Regions from separate parts of the Homo sapiens genome. Here all the other regions are linked to region 2. The links are contacts of gene promoters, found by promoter capture Hi-C in blood cells and fetal thymus (Javierre and others, 2016). All regions are on one chromosome and are shown on one strand. Each heading gives the region's core, a stretch centred on a gene start or on the middle of the fragment in contact. The rest is flanking DNA. Distances are from core to core; before and after follow the strand shown. Region 1 overlaps IGF2R (insulin like growth factor 2 receptor). Region 2 holds the start of WTAP (WT1 associated protein). Region 3 overlaps IGF2R (insulin like growth factor 2 receptor). Region 4 overlaps IGF2R (insulin like growth factor 2 receptor). Region 5 overlaps IGF2R (insulin like growth factor 2 receptor). Region 6 overlaps LOC124901452 (a long non-coding RNA gene).

Region 1 (2,700 bases), core at 16-2,515, 320 kb before region 2:
TATATGTGGTCTGTCTGCCATCGCTGGTGGTGCAGGCCGACCCATTCACGTATTCCAGAAGGAGGCTGCCGCTGTCCTCAACCACCGGGCCGGTCTTTGCCATTCCCAAGTTACTGATGGAAACCACTTCAGTGAAGGAGCCCTGCAAGAAAACCAGTCTTGTTAGGCTTTTCCCCCTGAAGATACAGTCGATTCGTTATTGGTGGTGGTTACATTCTATAAAGCTGCAGCAAACAATGAATTATTGAATACAGAACCACTGCTCCTGGGGAAATCCCCTTATTACATATGGAATAGGAAACCATCCTCAAAGAGTTAACAACAACTGCATGCTGCGTTCCAGGCATGCAATTGAGCACCAATCAGGCTGCATGCTGGCCTGTAACTGAAAGTCACATAGCACTAGATACTAGTCACATCCCCATTATTGCTACAGAAAGAATCACTGGCATTGGAATCATAAGGCTTTCGTTCAATAATCGTGTAAGATGTTCTTCAGATCCTGAATTCCGGTGGAACGGCTGACACTAACCACTATGAAGACCTCCCTACAGGGAACCAAATGCAGTTTCTTCATCTCCCCATCCGATGACTTCACCCTGCACTCTTCTACCAATAAACAATCCCCACACCTTGGCCCGCTCCAAATCCCTTAAGTCCCTCAACCCAAATTCCTTAGGGAGGTGAATTTGAGGTTTCTTCTCATCTCCTCATTCGCCTGCCCTACAATTAAACTCTTTCTCGGCTGTAATCCCCAATGTCTCAGCGTACTGACTGGCCGCACATCAGGCAAACAAACCTATTACACACAGATTATAAATCTGAAATCCCAAGACAACTCATGCTGACAGATTCTACTCTCTTTATTTTACAGAAGGAAAAACGAGGTTAAGGAGTGTTAAGTGGCTCACCTAAGGCTGCCCCGCTAAACTTTCCGAACACAAGGGAGTAAGTCATGTTTGAAAAGGCTTTAGTGTGAATTCTAGGCAAGAAACTTCTCTTAGGGAGACCTTACCAGGCAGTGCAGCGCGGAAGTTCCAGCTCTGGAGCATCTCTGAGTTGAGATGCCAGAGTTGGAATTCAGACCCCGTCCAACTGGCCCCAGGGCTGGAGCTTTTGCACTGCACTGCCTCGCCCTCTCCATCCCCTGCTCATCTCAGGGTGAGGCAGAAACAAGAGGCCAGAGTGTCCCCCTGTTCAACTTCAACCAGGAACAGGCTTGTCGGGTACTATGCACATTGGGCCACTACACTCGTTCCAACAATGACTGAGAAAGTGTTCCGCGTGGTGATTTTGGAGTTACACGTGTTCTCAAGTAGGCAAGTTCACAGATGCAGAATCTGTGAATAAAGAGGACTGACTATACACTGAACTCATTGCTCCAGTAAAGAACACACATGTGCAGAGGTAAACACAACCAGGAACTCGATTCCTAACCACCAGAGCACACTTGCCACCTTCCTTTCAAAAACCTCCAAGCTGCCATTAGCATACACCAAGAAAAGTACATTCCCAACATGCTATTTTTACAGAAGCCAATACAGATGTCCAGAGACATCTCTTTTAAGATTCACCACGTACAACGACCACAGGAGACGGGTAAATGTTCTGGCGGTGACTGCATTCAACCCAGGGACGAACTGCAGCGAATGAGAGCGTGTGCTTGAATCTGGTTCATCCACAGCAACTCTCCCAAATCGGTTTTTCCCCCTAATCAATCCAGAAACAAGAGCTTTTGGAAGCAAAACTCTCTTTTTCACAGGTGTCTGCTGAAAGCACCTAAAGACACTTTTGAATTCAGGCTAGACATAACCATTCGGTGCTTCCTCTGCCCTTTGTGTGATCAAAAGTCTGCAACACAGCATTCTCCATGTGAACAATGATTCCTGTGTGACACACTTCTGCTCCTACAGGAGGCAGATGAGTTCACATGGAGGCCCCACTCCTACTCAGAGGGTTTCTCTCGAGCAGCTGTGCTGCCTTTGATCTGGATGTCCCAGAATAACCACCTCCTCCCACTAAGTCATGGAATTAGGAGGGCAAAGGAGACAAGCAGTGAAAACAGATTCACCTGATCTTTTTCATACTTCATCTGGCAAGCCGATGCATATCGGTTGCAGCCCGGCACTGGATTCAGAGGCCGACACACGTTAATGTAGTATTTCCTCCACGTGACATGTTCCCCTGAGTTGTCCATGGCATACCAGTTTCCTCCAAGGCCACCTTCAGATTTTGCCAGACTAAAATTTCAAAGCAAAATGTATATGCTTTTAAAGAGCTTACACATTTCAGTCTCATTTATTTCTATGTAGTTGGGGAAGTAAAGCTACCAAATAAAACATGCTCCACCAATCACACTACCAGGAGTTGGCTTGTCTGGGCGCATGACGCACCAGGATTACACTCCACCTTCGCTGAACTCAGTATGCAGTGGACCTTAACTGTCCCCCGTGCCTCTGCACTGACAGTCATTGTTTTAAATGATGAAGCTAAAGGCCGAGGCTCTGCTGTGGCCAAGACTGGTTGCTATCCCAAAGGCGACCAGACAGTTATTAGAATTCACTCTGCTGAAAATGCCCCACCTTGGTCCTGCAGCCCCACAGCCAGCATCACTCCCCATCATCAGCTCAGTCACACGCTCACCAGCAACACTTGCAACCTCAGCATCTGTACCAGGCCAAAAACAGAGCAGCTGACTCT
Region 2 (2,785 bases), core at 259-2,758:
TCAACGTTGAATTGGAAAAGCTAGACATAAAAGAGCCATGTAAAAATAAGCAGTGCCTGGGACACACTATTATTATTACTTTTATCCTTTAGGAGTTAGCAATTCTGGTAGCTTGTCCAAATTCTGCCAATGAAAAAGTACTAAAAATACTGAACTTTTAAACCATGTGTCTGCTTAAGATACCTTAACATATAAAAGCACTGTAAGAAACACACCTACCCAAACCCTTAAAATGTAACCTCAACCTTATCACAAGCCAGCTTTGCGGACTGCAATCTTTCCCCGACTTGGCTAATCAGATGCTACTTGAATGAATTAAAATGTATCCATCTTGAAAAGATTTTTCGCTCATAGTTTTAAATTACGGTTTTAAATGTCCACAACATGTTTATCTATCGTAGAAAACTTAATGGTCAAAATTTTAAAATCCAAAAAACGAGAACTTGCGATGGATCTATGACGTCCACTTATCTTCCGAAGCAATGGAATTAACTAAAACTAGATAAAATAGGCACAAATACAACTTCCAATTGTAACATACTCATAGAAGTATTTCCCTACCAGACTAAATAATAGTTTTTTTGTTTTGTTTTGTTTTTTTTACATAATCACAGTTATGCTAGTCCTTGATAATGTTAAGCTAATCCTTTGGGATCAAACAACCAAGTGACTTTCTTATCAAAACAAGAACTCGGGCTTTTCCATTACGTGTACACAGACTTATGAAAAACGGTGAAAAAAAAATCTAGTAACTGTCTCACAGGGATCCAAGGTAAGACTTGGATTTCACAAAAATCTGCAATAATTCAGTTTCTTTCCTCAGAATGCTTATACTCATTTAAAAATGGAAGTCTACAAGAGAACGTAGTAACATCCTACTGCGTGACATGAAATGTAGGGAACGAATGTTTCTTTTTTTCCTTGCTGAACTCGTTAGTGCCGCCAGGTCCTCAGGAGAGGCCCAAGGGAGGTGAAGGGGGCGACCCCGAGGCGAGGAAAAAACGAGCGCCGCCGCTCAGCCCGGGGAGGGCATCCTCCGGCCTCCGTGAGTGGCCGGTCTCTCCGGCCGCCAGAGCACCCCTCTCAACCCGGGCCTTGGGGACGGAGGACAGAGATAAAATGGCCTCGAAGCGGCGGAAGTGTTCCCCGCAGGCGGGAAGGTAGAGCGGCTCACGAGAGACCGGTGCCGCACCAGGCCCGTGTGGCCTTTCGGGCCCTGCCCGCCCCTTACCCGCCGGGGGCGGCTGCGCATCAGCCCTCAGGCCCCGGAGGTCCCCCGCGTCCGCTCCCGCCAGCCGGCCCGCGCCTACCTCTCCAGGCAGAAGCCGCGCCGGCGCCACCGGTCGCATAGGCCGAGGCCGCGCTGCTTGCCCTGCCGCCCGGGCCCCCCGGGCCACCGCGCAGCCGGACAGCTCTGCCGCCGGCCCCGCCGCGCTCCTAGTCCCGCCGCAACCCCTGCGCTCCCCTTTATTTGTGGGTCTCGCTGCCACAAAATGGCGCTGAGGGAGGAAACCAGGCCCCGCCGCCCGGCCCCGCCCCGCCGCACGGCTCCGCTCCGCCCTGCCCCGCCCCACAGCCGGTCCGAACGCGCCGCAGGCCAGCGCCACTGCCTCCCGCCTCCCGCCTCCCGCCTCCCGCCAGCCTCCCCGCTCCGCCATGTTCGCCTTCTGGCCCACTCACAGGAGAGTCGCCTTTCAGGCGTGGCCGCAGTCACTCGCCCGCCGCCGAACCCCGCCAGGAGAGGAAAGGTGAAGGGAGGGAGGCCGTCGGCCTAGCCCGATCGGGGCCTCGAGGCACAATGGAGCAGCTGCTCCCCGGTAACACTCCCCGTCCTTTCCCAGGAGCCTGGCGCGAGCTCCGCGGGCCCCGGAGCTCAGCAAGCTCAGTAAGGGAAGCGGCCGAGGGGAGGGGCGGGCCAGCGAGGTCGGAGGTCAGCCCCAGGGCATCACGGGAAGGGAAGGTGGAAGTACTCGCCGGGGCCACCTGCGGCTGCGGGGCTGCCTCGTGCGGAGGGATCTGGGCGAAGGCGGCGCGTGATTGGCCGCTCTGTGTTCGTGACGCTCATCCGTGATGCTTCCGCGTGTCGGAGGACCAGGTGCCACCTCAAGAGAGAGGCCGTGGGCGGCGAGCCGCGGGCGTTTACTCTTAGCAGAAGCTCACCTGTAAGTTTTGAGAACTTAGAAACCGATGCCTTCCCTCTCATCAGTCGTGAGGCGCAGTCTCCTGGCCGCTGGGTTCGTTCCTCCTTGACATCTCTGGAGACGCATCGAGGAGCTATTGTTCTCTGGCGTCGGAGGTTGCGCTGTGTCCGCGGCGTTGAGGGCCCCTTGCTAACTGGAACACGGGGAAGGCGGCCCTGTGAGGTTTAGTGAACTCAATCAAAGAGGTCCTGCAAGTGGAGTAGACTCCCTGAAGTAAGACTGCCATCTGGACCGCCGAGTAATGGCGGTGTTACCTGGAGAACGTGAAACAGTCTCTAAACACTTACTAGAAGAGCACGTAATTCTTTTGATTGGTCTGTCCTTAGCCGGCTTTATCAAACCTGTTCATCCCCAAAGGAGTGTCTTGTAGTAAGGTGATTTATTAGGATAAGATTAAAGTACATTCCAGATGGTCGTAGTATATTTCCAGTGAATCAGATCGGTCTGGAGAAAATCTTTGCAACTCGTATCACAAGAGCTCTCAAAAATTGAAAACAAAAAGTGCAAAAGCCAAAGGAGAAAATGGGGAAGGACATGAACAGATGATTCTCAGAAAAAATACCGTAATGGTCTTTAAACATAGA
Region 3 (2,700 bases), core at 53-2,552, 340 kb before region 2:
CCTGGAGAGCCTAGAGCTGCTGGACTGACACTGTCAGTAACCCCAGTCAGGAGCACCTCTCACACCAGGAGAGTGACAGGAGGGATGGATTCTCTGTGGGAGCATTCTCTCCTCCACTGAAGGAGAGCCAGGAGAACACACAGCAGCCCATCCAGAGAAAGGCCAAACACACCCACACACCATGACACCTCTGCCCAGGGCGCCTGCTGCCCATAGCTTCTCTTTGGGTCTCTCCCCTGATGAGCTGGGTTTGGTGGGGGCACCGTCTCTCACCTGCGCTGGGGTTAACGACTGGCACCACCTCTCACCTGTGCTTGGGTTGGTGACCTGGCAGTCATCATGCTCGTTGCTCTTCATGGGACAGGCTGTGGCTGTGGGCCAGGCAAAGGTGTACTCACAGTCCTCCACGGCGCTGATGAACATGGGCCTGGAGTTCTACAACAAAGCACAGACAGGTCCTGAAGGGATCACGCAAAAACTCCATGTCTATCATGATTTCAACTTACAAGTGGAAGCTTCTCTGAAAAACTCCACAGCATGTGACATTTCTGTCTCCATGTGCCTGTGGGATGAGGCGCAGATTAGGAAAAGCAAAGGGTCAGAATGTGTCCTGAGCTGCCACCATGGGCTTCCCCTGCAGGTAAGTGAAACACCCACAGGCAGCAACACACTTAGGGGACCAGGAAGCTCCCTCAGGCTGAGGAACAGGACAGGGGTTGGGGACAGGCGTGCAAAGGATGCTGGAAGGGCTACAGGGAGACACAAATGTGTAAATCATTGATAAAATTCTAAAAACCAAATGAGGTAAAATCCATTATCACAGTCAAAACAAAAAGATATACCAAGAGAACTAGCCCATTCCACGCATCCTCCCACTGGCACCAGCCAAGGCTTACTCTGCTCATCTCAAAACGCTTCATGTCCACTGCAGAGTTAGCATGATGAGTTCAGCAGCACCTTCCTTCCCAGGTAAACCCCATGATTCCTGCTGGGCACCCTGATAAGCCACGCTGCAGTCCAGCCTCCCAGGCCCTGGGCACAGGGGCCTCGACACACCCCCACCCTTCCCTCCCAGCCTCCTGGGCCCTGGGCACAGGGGCCTCGACACACCCCCACCCTTCCCTCCCAGCCTCCTGGGTCTGGGGCACAGGGCCTCCACACACCCTTCACCTTTCCCTCCCAGCCTCCTGGGTCTGGGGCACAGAGGCCCCCACACACCACCCTCATCCTTCCCTCCCAGCCTCCTGGGCTCTGGACATGGGGAACCCCACACACCCCTTCACCCTTCCCTCCCAGCCTTCTGGGCCCTGGGCACAGGGGCCCCACACACCCTCTCACCTTTGCCCCCCACATGTGGGGCAGCCCTTTTGTCCTCGGCCATGAGCCTCTCAGGTCACAGAGGAGAATGCTCAGAGGCCCCAGCAGCTCATGAGTCTGGACTAAGCCTCTGCACAATCTTCCCAAGAGGAAACTTCCCTGCCGCTCCAGGCAAGAGGGCAGGCCTGAAGCTCCTGGAGCCCCCCATCCCAAGCTCCCCTACCACTGCTGCCCACCGCTGGAGAGCATGGGGCGAGCCACCCTGACACCCAGCGAGCTGGTCTTGCCCGAGTTAATGCCCAACTCAGCCACCGAGCTTGTCATGCACGCTAGCACTGGGGCTCACCACAATCTCACACACAGAAAAACCTGTATGCAGTCGACACCTGCTTACGTGCATGCCAAACAAGTAAGGGAAGAACTGATCACAGGCACTCATGCTCACTGACTGTGCATCTCCCGTGTGTCAGAAATGACACCTGGCACTTCCTACCTCTTCTCTCGAAACCCTGCAATGGGCAGGACAAGTATGCCTCATGTTATGAACGGCTGAGCAGGGCAGACTACCTGAGTAATTAACCAAGTTATGTGGCTGGGAAGTGGCAGCGCTACCTGTGACCCGGGCCCAGCCAACCTTCTCGTGCTTCCCAAGCTGCCGCCGTGAAGACAAAAGGGCATGTAGTCAAACAACAATCTCCTCCACAGCCTTTAGGGGTCTGAGTCAAACTCTGAAGAGAACCAATTCTGAGTCGGGAACTGCCAGGCAAGCTTCTAAGGAGCCAGACAGCACGAGGGTTCCCCAGATTGCAGGCCGCGGCGACGCTGTTCCCCCAACCTCTGGTAAGGGCGCATCATCCCAGGCTCTAGAACTCGCATCCCAAGGCAGATGAGGACGTGCGGCTCACCGCCCTGCACATGGGCTCAATTCCCAAAGCTGCAACAGCAGAAGGTGCAGGAACAGTCCCTTACCACTTGGCTCTCGCTGCAGGTGAATCGGATGGTGGTTGACTTTTTCCGAATCCCATCTGGACATAAGTCGCCATCAACGTATTTCAGGACAATTATGCCATCTCTCCACTGAGGTCCGTCCCTTACCCTGCCGAGGTTCACGGGCTTGGAGCCACCCAGCAGACACGCGGCTGCTTCTGGAGGGCACGGCTCTGCAGCACCAGACACAAGAAAGAGTTGCCTTTAGTGACTCCCCAGGCTAGAACAGAACTTCATCAGGCAATAAATGTCACACACGCTGCAGAACTTCATACGCTTTCTAAGAGTCACTTCAAAATACCTGCTATTTCTTTCACATAAGTCAGATGACAATGACATCACGTTAGTTCTCACTCACTTACATGCTGTTTTGTCACAGATGGACTGGGGCAGGCG
Region 4 (2,700 bases), core at 160-2,659, 280 kb before region 2:
ATATATATATATATAAATTAGCCGGGCATGGTGGCTCATGCCTGTAATCCCAGGATGACTGTGTGTCCCCACTCAAATCTTGTGTCAAATTGTAATCCTCAACATTGGAGGCGGGGCCTGGGGAGGTGACTGGATCATGAGGGCAGATTCCATCACCCCCTTCTTGCTATTATCATGATAGTGAGTGAGTTCTTGTGAGATCTGGTCATTTCAAAGTGGGCGGCACCTCCCCCTCCCACTCTCTTCCTCAGGCTCTGGCCACGTGAGGTGCTCGATACTCTGTTGCCTTCTGCCATGACTGTAAGTTTCCTGAGGCTTCTCCAGATGCAGATGCTGCCATTCTTCCTTTACAACCTGCGGAACTGTGAGCTAATTATACCTCTTTTCTTTATAAATTACCCAGTCTCAGGTGTTTCTTTATAGCACTGCGAGAATGAACACACTGTGCTCCCACCCTCACCCCCAAACCCCAAACAGATGTCTGCTTTGAGATGCTTTTCCCACCGCTAACAGTATGTCATCTAACAGCTTCACCTAAGTTTTTAAATGAAGCTTACATTTGACACTGTCTCCTAAATATCAGCCTTAATTCTTTCCACTTTAAACTTTTTTTTTTTCATTGAATGCTCCTTATGGCTTTCCTGGGCAGTATTTTACCACTTCCACTTCCATATGACACTGTCTTTCCCTTCATAGATGACCATATCTGAAAATATCAGTGATTTATTGTTCATAATTTAATCTGAATTAATGTTTTTAAATAAACATTTCTTTTTGTCTTATTAAACTGCATGGTATTAGGCCACTAGTAAAAATTACTGATTATGACCATTCATTAGTTCCTGAATCCTTACAACCTTTGAAAGTTCTTAAAAACAGAAAGTAGGAGAGAAAAGTGAGATAATCAATTAATTAAGATTGTTATCAAGGTGAGAACAGGAAATTCCCTTTAGGATCTGGGGTGGTGGGCATGGAGAAGCGGCAGAAGGAACACAGTCTGCTCTTCCCCAGGACCAGGGAGAATCAAGTAGCAGTGCAACATGAGGGAATCCAGGCTGGGGAAGGGGACATTCCATTAGTCAACAAGAATGACCTGCCCAAGAGATCCATTAAACACCACCACAACCACAGTTAATAACAATGTAATTTATTCTTGCGTATCACTAAGAGAGTAGATTTTAAGAGTCCTCACAAAAAAAAAAAAAAAAACGAAATATGTGAGGTAACACATATGTAATTAGCTCAATGTAGCCATTCCTCAATGTATACATATTTCAAAATATCATGTTGCACATAATACATATAGGTCAGTGTGTATGTATATAGATATATATACATACATGCACCCAAGAAGAATGTCTTGACCAAGGAATGCTGGGTTCAAATAATAAGGGGTGGACGTAATAGTAACAGTAACCTAGTAATCTAGTCTCTGAGGTGAGCTGGAAAAGAATTTAAGGGATACCTGACCTGGACTCACATTGCAGCCAGAAGTCATCCCAAGGCTGAGGAGAGGGACAGAGAGATTTAACAATGCAAACAGGTAAAGGAGACTTATCAAAAGCGGGGTACAACACAGGTGGAAAGCCAGGTGCAAAGGAAGATGAAGCAGGCAGCGTCAGAAACAGATGGCTCCTGCAGGTAGAGTGAATACTCTAAGCCCAAGCCCAAACACGTCACTTAGTTTACTGAGTTGCACAGCACCAGAAACCAAGAACTAACTTGCCCTATATGGATGAGCCATTCTATTTCCAATCTGGACCAAAAATCACATCCTGTGATATTTTAAATGCCCTGTCCTAAAAATAAGAACCACTCAGAAAAGTTTTAAAAATTAAATCACATGGTATCTCTGCTCAAATGCAATTTGGAAGCTAAAAAAGATTTTCACCCGGAAAGGTTAGAATCAGTATTTGAAAGATAAAGTTCCCCAGAGTATACTTCATAAGCATGTAATTTGAAGTTCCCATGTTACCTCCTTATTTGCTTTAAATATGTCTTTCTTGCAGGCTGCAGTGGTCCTCCACTCAAAGTAGTGCACACATTCTGTTGCAGTTACAAATTCAGGAGTTCCCTATTAAAAAAAAATAGTAATTATAATGTTACCATACCACACATTGTAAAGATTCTTCTTTAAAATGAGAATGCAGTAAAGGCTACTAAAATAAAGAAAGCAGCAGCAAGAAGGGCAGGGGATGCAACCGCTTTAGTTAAACGGGGTCATCAAGAGGTTCCCAAATCTGCAAATTCTGAGACCAAAGCTTCATAAAATCATGTTGGGATTTTGTGTAACTAATCCAAAGGAATTCTACCGCCCCAGCTGTGCAAGTACATTGAGTGAGTTCATGGGAAGAAATCCTCAGTCATTCTCCTCTCAAACTCCAAATGTTCTCTTAAGCAAATGCCAGCAAACGAAAGCCAGAAAACGTGACCTCATGCTTCCCGTGAAAAGGCTCCCATGAGGAGCCCATCTGCATCTGACCAAGTTAGTACACCCACCAGACGCCAACCCTCCAAGGCAGCCCCTCCTGTTAACCGCAACCAGAGTGGACTACAAACAGGTCAACCCCAGCATCGCAGGATGACACAAGCACAGCAGGAACTGGCCTCTTCACTCCCACGTGCAAGTCTAGGGAGTTATCCTTCACAGTTCTATTTCTGGTATGGTGAACACAGAATTCATAAAGGAAATTAGCTGAA
Region 5 (2,700 bases), core at 183-2,682, 380 kb before region 2:
TTCTGTTAAAGGCAAAATTATAGAAGCATCATCGAGTGGAAGTCTTATTTGGTTGGAGGTGCTTGGCTGTCCCGCGGCTCCGTGCTCCCCTGCAGGCACTGCGGAGTCAGATGTGTAAGAGGTCCTCGTCGCTGTCGTCATGGAAGGACACCAGCTTGGTGGAGCTCACTGTCTTCTGCTGTGCAGAGCTGGACTTCCCTTTCCTCGCCTTCTCACCCCTGACCAGCCCCACCCTATCGTCCTCACGCTCCTGAAGGGCATTGCTCTGTGCGTTTCTCACTGGGTGGGAGCTCTCTGCCCCAGCTCCCCTGCCCGAGTGAACTTTCACCTCTGGGATGGTCAGAACCTCATCCTCACTGTCCTGGTCATCCCCATGCAGGGAGCTGAGGGCTTTCACTGACTTGGTGGTAATATGGCCGTTCTCCTGCCCTTCCTTTCCCTGCCGTGGAGGAGGCAGCTGGATCTCTTCCATCAGCCACTCTGTTTCATTCTCATCTGTCTCTTCTTCCTTATTCACCTGCCAGGGATCAACAGCAGAGACCACGTGAGCCCCCTAAGAGACCCCATTCTGCTCCACCATCCACCACATCAGGGATGCTCTCTGCTGGCACGAGCTGGGGAAGAACTGGCCCACTGTCCTCACAGTCACTGCATCTCCAGTTCCCAGGGAAAGGAAGACGAGGGCTGGCAACACCTTCCTGTTCCTAATGAGACTGCACCAAGGCAGGAGGGTTTGGGAGGGTGGCAGTGGGGTCATTTGGCAGGAGTCTCACAGCCAAGGGTGGGACCAAGCAGAAGGCGTTCGGGATGGCCTGGACCGAAAAGCAGACCAGTGATCCCCCAGCGCAGCTGGGGGAGAAGGGGCTCTTCCGGGCTACTCATAGACTGAAAGGTGCCCACTGCATGGCAGGGGAGGAATGTCAAAGGAGGGACTCCAGTCAAAAGCCTAGTTTTAGAGAGCAATTCATCATTACCCATCGAGACCACAAACATTATGTCCTTTGATCCAGATAATGCCTCTTTTCTGCAAATTTACCTGAAAGAAATCATCCAAATGCTACATGCACAACTATCTTCACTACTGTGTGTGTGTGTGTTTTGTTTTTTTTTTAAAGAACAGCCAAAAACAGTGGAAACAACCTAATTATTAAATACTTCAAGGAAATCAGTTGTAACCACGAGAGAAACTTGAGGGAAAAAAATAACAAAAAAATGTGCTGGCGTAAGTGGCTGAGGCAACGGGTGTTGCTTTCCTTTCTGGATTCCAGTCAGCCTGTGACTGCTTTCCTTGGCACCCCTGATGAGAACGACATGGACAGCGCAGCACAGGGGGCCGGGGAGGCAGGCCTTCAAGAGACTCGCCACAGAAAATTACCTTTGAGTATTTGTAGGACACGTTGGAACTTCTCCTACAGCAAGTGGTCAGCTTACTTATCACTGTTTCCCTATAAAAAAAAAGGAGACAATAATTACTCCAGTGTAGAGAGGGCATGGGCAGGAGCCCCACCCCCGCCAGCCCCACCCCCATCTGCACCACCAGGGGGCTGGTGGTGGCTGCATTTCTCCCACATTCTGAATGACAAATGAGTAGCCGTGACAGGTTATATATACCCTAATGTATTTGTTGTGATTGAGTGGAAAGAAGATGGGCTTTGGAATCCAACAGCAGAGGGCCCTCTAGAGCAACTTAACATTAGGGCAAGGACTTTTTCACATGACTAACAGGACCACACCAGTCCGTCGCCACTAAGCCTGCCCAATGGTGGCTCGCAGAGACAGACATCACATGCCCTTCCCGGCCCAGACCTTCTTCTGCCCCATTCTGCATTTTGGGTGTAGAGGGCCACAATCGGTACTTTTTTTTTTTTTTTGGACAGAGTCTCACTGTGTTGCCCAGGCTAGAGTGCAGTGGTGAGATCTTGGCTCACTGCAACCTCCATGGTTGGTACTTTCTGACCACCTCTCTCATTGGCCTGTGGCTCAGCTGGCAAATGACAGTGGCAGCAGGGAACGCCTGAGCTGGCCAGCTCCTGCCCCCAGGTCAGAGCCACTAACACTGACGCCTGACGTGAAAATCTGCTTGACCGTCACATGGAGAGTCCTTTCACCCAGCAAAGTGGCGCAAAAGGATGGCATCATACCTGGTACATAGCAGGCGCTTAATAAACTCCTGCATTTATGATGTGAGGAGGGCAGAGGGGTCAGCTGCTCAGTGGGAAAAGGCACCCATGAAAGGTGCCGTTTAATGTTCTACTCATCTTTGGACACAAAGGACCACGGTCCTAGAAGCCGCAGGCACGGGTGATGTGCGAGGGCCTCGGCCTTGGTCAGACAGAAATGCAGGCATTTAAAAACCACAACGCTGGGGACTGCTTCCAGAGAGTTTTGGACTAAGAACCTCGAGCCTTCGCTGCTGTAGGGCTTAAAAACAAATAAATAAAACCCCACAAAACTGACCCCAAGATTAGCTATGGGAGGCATGCATCCACCCGCCCCACCTCGCCCTGCCACCCGCTTACCTCCTCTCCTTCTTGTAGAGCAACAGGGCCAGCAGGCAGCAGGTGAGCGCCACCAGCAGCAGGCTGAGCACCGCGCCGACTGCCTGGCTCCGTTCTGACAGCCCCTTGTGCATCTGCCCGTCGTCCCCGGGATTCTCGCTGTCAAAGCCCACCCTGCAAGGACGTCACAGAAAAGGAGCCG
Region 6 (2,713 bases), core at 97-2,596, 390 kb before region 2:
GGTTCTTTAGTGGTGATTTGTGAGATTTTGGTGCATCCATCTCCCAAGCAGTATACACTGCACCCAATTTGGGTGTTTTAAGCTCCACCTCTTCATTTGTGTGTGTGTATACATGTCTAGATGTGTTTACTTGTATGTACACTTACTGTTATATGTTGTGTCTACCAAATTGGCTTATAAGTAAAAGAGTGTTCATAAATTAAGTAAATAAGTCTAAGCAATTTTCAAATTCACTTAAGTATGACTTTGCTAAATAGGCTGTCTTTTAAATTATCAGTAAAATGAAAATAGAAATGTCTTCAAAATATAGACATGGTCTAAATTATGCAAGTCAGAAACTAGGTTGACTAAATGCTTTAAGGTCATAAACTGCTTTGGCTTTTGAAAATTGTTCAACTTTCCTGCTTTGCAGTTTGGTAGGGCCTGCCCTAGCTATGCTGGAAATAGTTAGACCTCATCTGCACCTAAGTACGTAACTAAAATAACTTACTGGGTATTTCACCAAAATTAACAATTACTAAGAGCTACCATTATAACATGTAGTGATGACTACTGAAAACAGATCTACACGTGAGGTGAGTAAGGAGAGTAAAATGTATCATTAGTAAAATAATATAAGAAGGCATGGGAATGTAAATTTTTGCCTAGTTCAGAGGGTTAAATGATTGTTTTAAATTATATAAGATAAAGCTTAAGGTTCAAACAAGTTATGGAAGGTTTGTAAAAAATTAATCTTGTAAAAGGAATCCTGTGTGTAAACATATTGACTACACTAAAAAGGATATTATTTGGTTTTCCATAAGTTGAACAATGGAATACAAGCACAACAAGGTTTTCTTGAAGCACTTACATGCTGTTTAACAAAAAAAATTTGTAAAAGGTTATAAAAGATTTATAACAATCTCAGTTCATGATCAAACTGATTAAGATTGGATGGATTTCTCTGTAAGGTTTTATTTTTTTTAATTGGGGTTGACATTAATAGACTAATGTAAGGGTAAAATTTGGCTTTCACTTGAACAAGATTTTCATGCAATGAAAGATTTTGTTTTCTTTGTGAATAAGCTACTGACACAAGAAGGGAAGGACAAGAGATCAACAGGACTCCAGGGTCAATAGGGCTCCATAGCTGAGGGGAAGGGAGCTCAGCAGCCTGACATGCTGGCGAAAGGGTAAAAGTTCTTACCAGTCAGACTTTTGGTTTCTCTCTCTGTGCAAACTGGTTGCAGGAACAATAAAAAAATCACTATATTCTCTGCCCCTCCATGAATTCAACTGGCCATTTGGCATGGCTAAAGTTGGATAATAAGAGACTTAAAAGGACTTCTTAAAAAGGAGTGCGATGGTTAAAAGTTAGATTGTTTGGAAAATTAGGTCTTCCCTCTTAGTGACTGAAGGTTTTTGCTTTGAGTCATTTAAATGAATGACTTATAGTAACCAAAAATTCTGTTAAGTGTTTTGAGCCTTTACAGCTTCAAAATTTTCTTTCCTAACCCCTGAGTTTTGGATGCTACAGAAGACACCTGGAGCATCGAAAGGGAGAGGTAAACAGGGTTATTTGACAAGTTTAGTTACATAGGATTACCAAAATAAGGTGTTTGATCTTCAGGTTATATTTTAGTGAAAAATGTTAATGTGTGTTTCAAAATTGTATGGGATTTCTAGATTTCTGATGCCTGAGTTTGTGTTATCAATCATAGCTAGGGTTATTGTGTTAGGTTATTGTAAATCACAGAGGTGACCAGATTTCTTCATCAATTGTGTTTTTGACTATGAATACGCTAGGACATTTTGACATTCACAGACAATTGTTGTCATGTTTTGATCCTCTTCAAGGGATGGATTATAGTCTTCAAATGCAGATTTCTGATAATTTTGGAGATTGTGAATAGGAGTTGACTGGGTGAGCTGAACTAATAGAAGACTGAAGCAATCTTGTTTTGACCTTTTGCTTGGAATACTGTTGATCCTTTATCTTGTTTTTCAGAATCAAGGAAGCTTTTCTTTTGAGCTATTTGTAGCTTTTGACAATTGTGAAGGTGAACCAACTAGTGATATCTGACTACAGCTCAGAAGAAACAAGGGATGGGCCGTTAAACTCCAAATGGTCATGAAAATGGAGCCTCAGATGATGGCTGCCTTGTACTGGATATTCTTAGATAGGTCTCTGAGAGAGACTTGACTGTTGTTTTCCCAAAACAATATCCCTGGTCAGCACGAAGCAGTTAAGAGTGGTCATTGTCCCTACCCTAACAGCAGTTAGGTGTACCTCTTCAGAGGGGGAAATGATGGCAGCAGCAGGGAGGCGTGGCTGGGGCTGAACACTCCACGGAGCTGATGGAAGCCCCACCCTCCTGGGACTGTGGATCCAAGCCTCCTTGTGCTCTTGGAGGGGGCCAGCAGCAGGCCAGATCTGCCTGCCTGGATGCAGCTGCAACCACCTGACCTGTGGCTGCAGACCTGGGCCTCTCACTCCACAGAGCAGGCAGGAGCCAGGGACAAGCAGGAACCCCACCCCTTCTGAGTTGGCAGGGTGGGAGTTCCGTGGATGCAGCTGTGGCTGCCCTCCCAGGCACAAGACCTGGGCATCTCTGCAGCCTGCAACCTCAGGGGCCTGGGAAGGCCTCCCCACTAGTCCCCATCCCAGGCTCAGAAGAGTCTGCTCCCACTGCCTGGCCCCTCTCCCATCCCAGCACCTGCTCCGATCTCAGAG

What was found. Contacts are between HindIII fragments. The CHiCAGO score rates a contact against its expected background, and 5 or more counts as called.
Region 1: a contact is called between a fragment that was not itself captured here and the fragment with the promoter of WTAP in region 2, in 1 of 17 cell types (neutrophils). The highest score is 6.6, in neutrophils.
Region 3: a fragment that was not itself captured here is called in contact with the fragment with the promoter of WTAP in region 2 in 1 of 17 cell types (neutrophils); the score reaches 7.0 in neutrophils.
Region 4: a fragment that was not itself captured here is called in contact with the fragment with the promoter of WTAP in region 2 in 1 of 17 cell types (fetal thymus); the score reaches 5.2 in fetal thymus.
Region 5: a fragment that was not itself captured here is called in contact with the fragment with the promoter of WTAP in region 2 in 1 of 17 cell types (neutrophils); the score reaches 5.1 in neutrophils.
Region 6: a contact is called between a fragment that was not itself captured here and the fragment with the promoter of WTAP in region 2, in 1 of 17 cell types (neutrophils). The highest score is 5.8, in neutrophils.

The regions. Positions count from the first base shown.
Region 1 is chr6:160,047,915-160,050,614 of GRCh38, reverse strand. IGF2R (insulin like growth factor 2 receptor) reads right to left here. Exons shown (of 48, transcript NM_000876.4): 18 at 2,072-2,240; 19 at 1-142. Among named protein-coding and RNA genes, the nearest start is that of AIRN, 42 kb to the right of the region's middle. The HindIII fragment of the contact is 3,349 bases long and covers 1-2,700 here.
Region 2 is chr6:159,726,229-159,729,013 of GRCh38, reverse strand. WTAP (WT1 associated protein) reads right to left here and starts at 1,508. Exons shown (of 8, transcript NM_001270531.2): 1 at 1,311-1,508. It also overlaps a transcript of SOD2 not described here. RefSeq lists a silencer at 1,090-1,639 and enhancers at 1,102-1,699, 1,650-1,779, 2,130-2,219, 1,700-2,297. The HindIII fragment of the contact is 6,285 bases long and covers 1-2,785 here.
Region 3 is chr6:160,069,645-160,072,344 of GRCh38, reverse strand. It overlaps IGF2R (insulin like growth factor 2 receptor), which reads right to left. Exons shown (of 48, transcript NM_000876.4): 31 at 2,287-2,477; 32 at 309-435. Among named protein-coding and RNA genes, the nearest start is that of SLC22A1, 51 kb to the left of the region's middle. The HindIII fragment of the contact is 1,570 bases long and covers 518-2,087 here.
Region 4 is chr6:160,010,061-160,012,760 of GRCh38, reverse strand. IGF2R (insulin like growth factor 2 receptor) reads right to left here. Exons shown (of 48, transcript NM_000876.4): 4 at 1,976-2,074. Among named protein-coding and RNA genes, the nearest start is that of AIRN, 3.7 kb to the right of the region's middle. The HindIII fragment of the contact is 1,709 bases long and covers 555-2,263 here.
Region 5 is chr6:160,102,491-160,105,190 of GRCh38, reverse strand. IGF2R (insulin like growth factor 2 receptor) reads right to left here. Exons shown (of 48, transcript NM_000876.4): 46 at 2,520-2,672; 47 at 1,376-1,445; 48 at 1-517. The coding sequence ends at 107. Among named protein-coding and RNA genes, the nearest start is that of SLC22A1, 18 kb to the left of the region's middle. The HindIII fragment of the contact is 6,206 bases long and covers 1-2,700 here.
Region 6 is chr6:160,118,704-160,121,416 of GRCh38, reverse strand. It overlaps LOC124901452 (a long non-coding RNA gene), which reads left to right. Exons shown (of 2, transcript XR_007059842.1): 1 at 1-575; 2 at 1,988-2,713. Among named protein-coding and RNA genes, the nearest start is that of SLC22A1, 1.8 kb to the left of the region's middle. The HindIII fragment of the contact is 1,308 bases long and covers 693-2,000 here.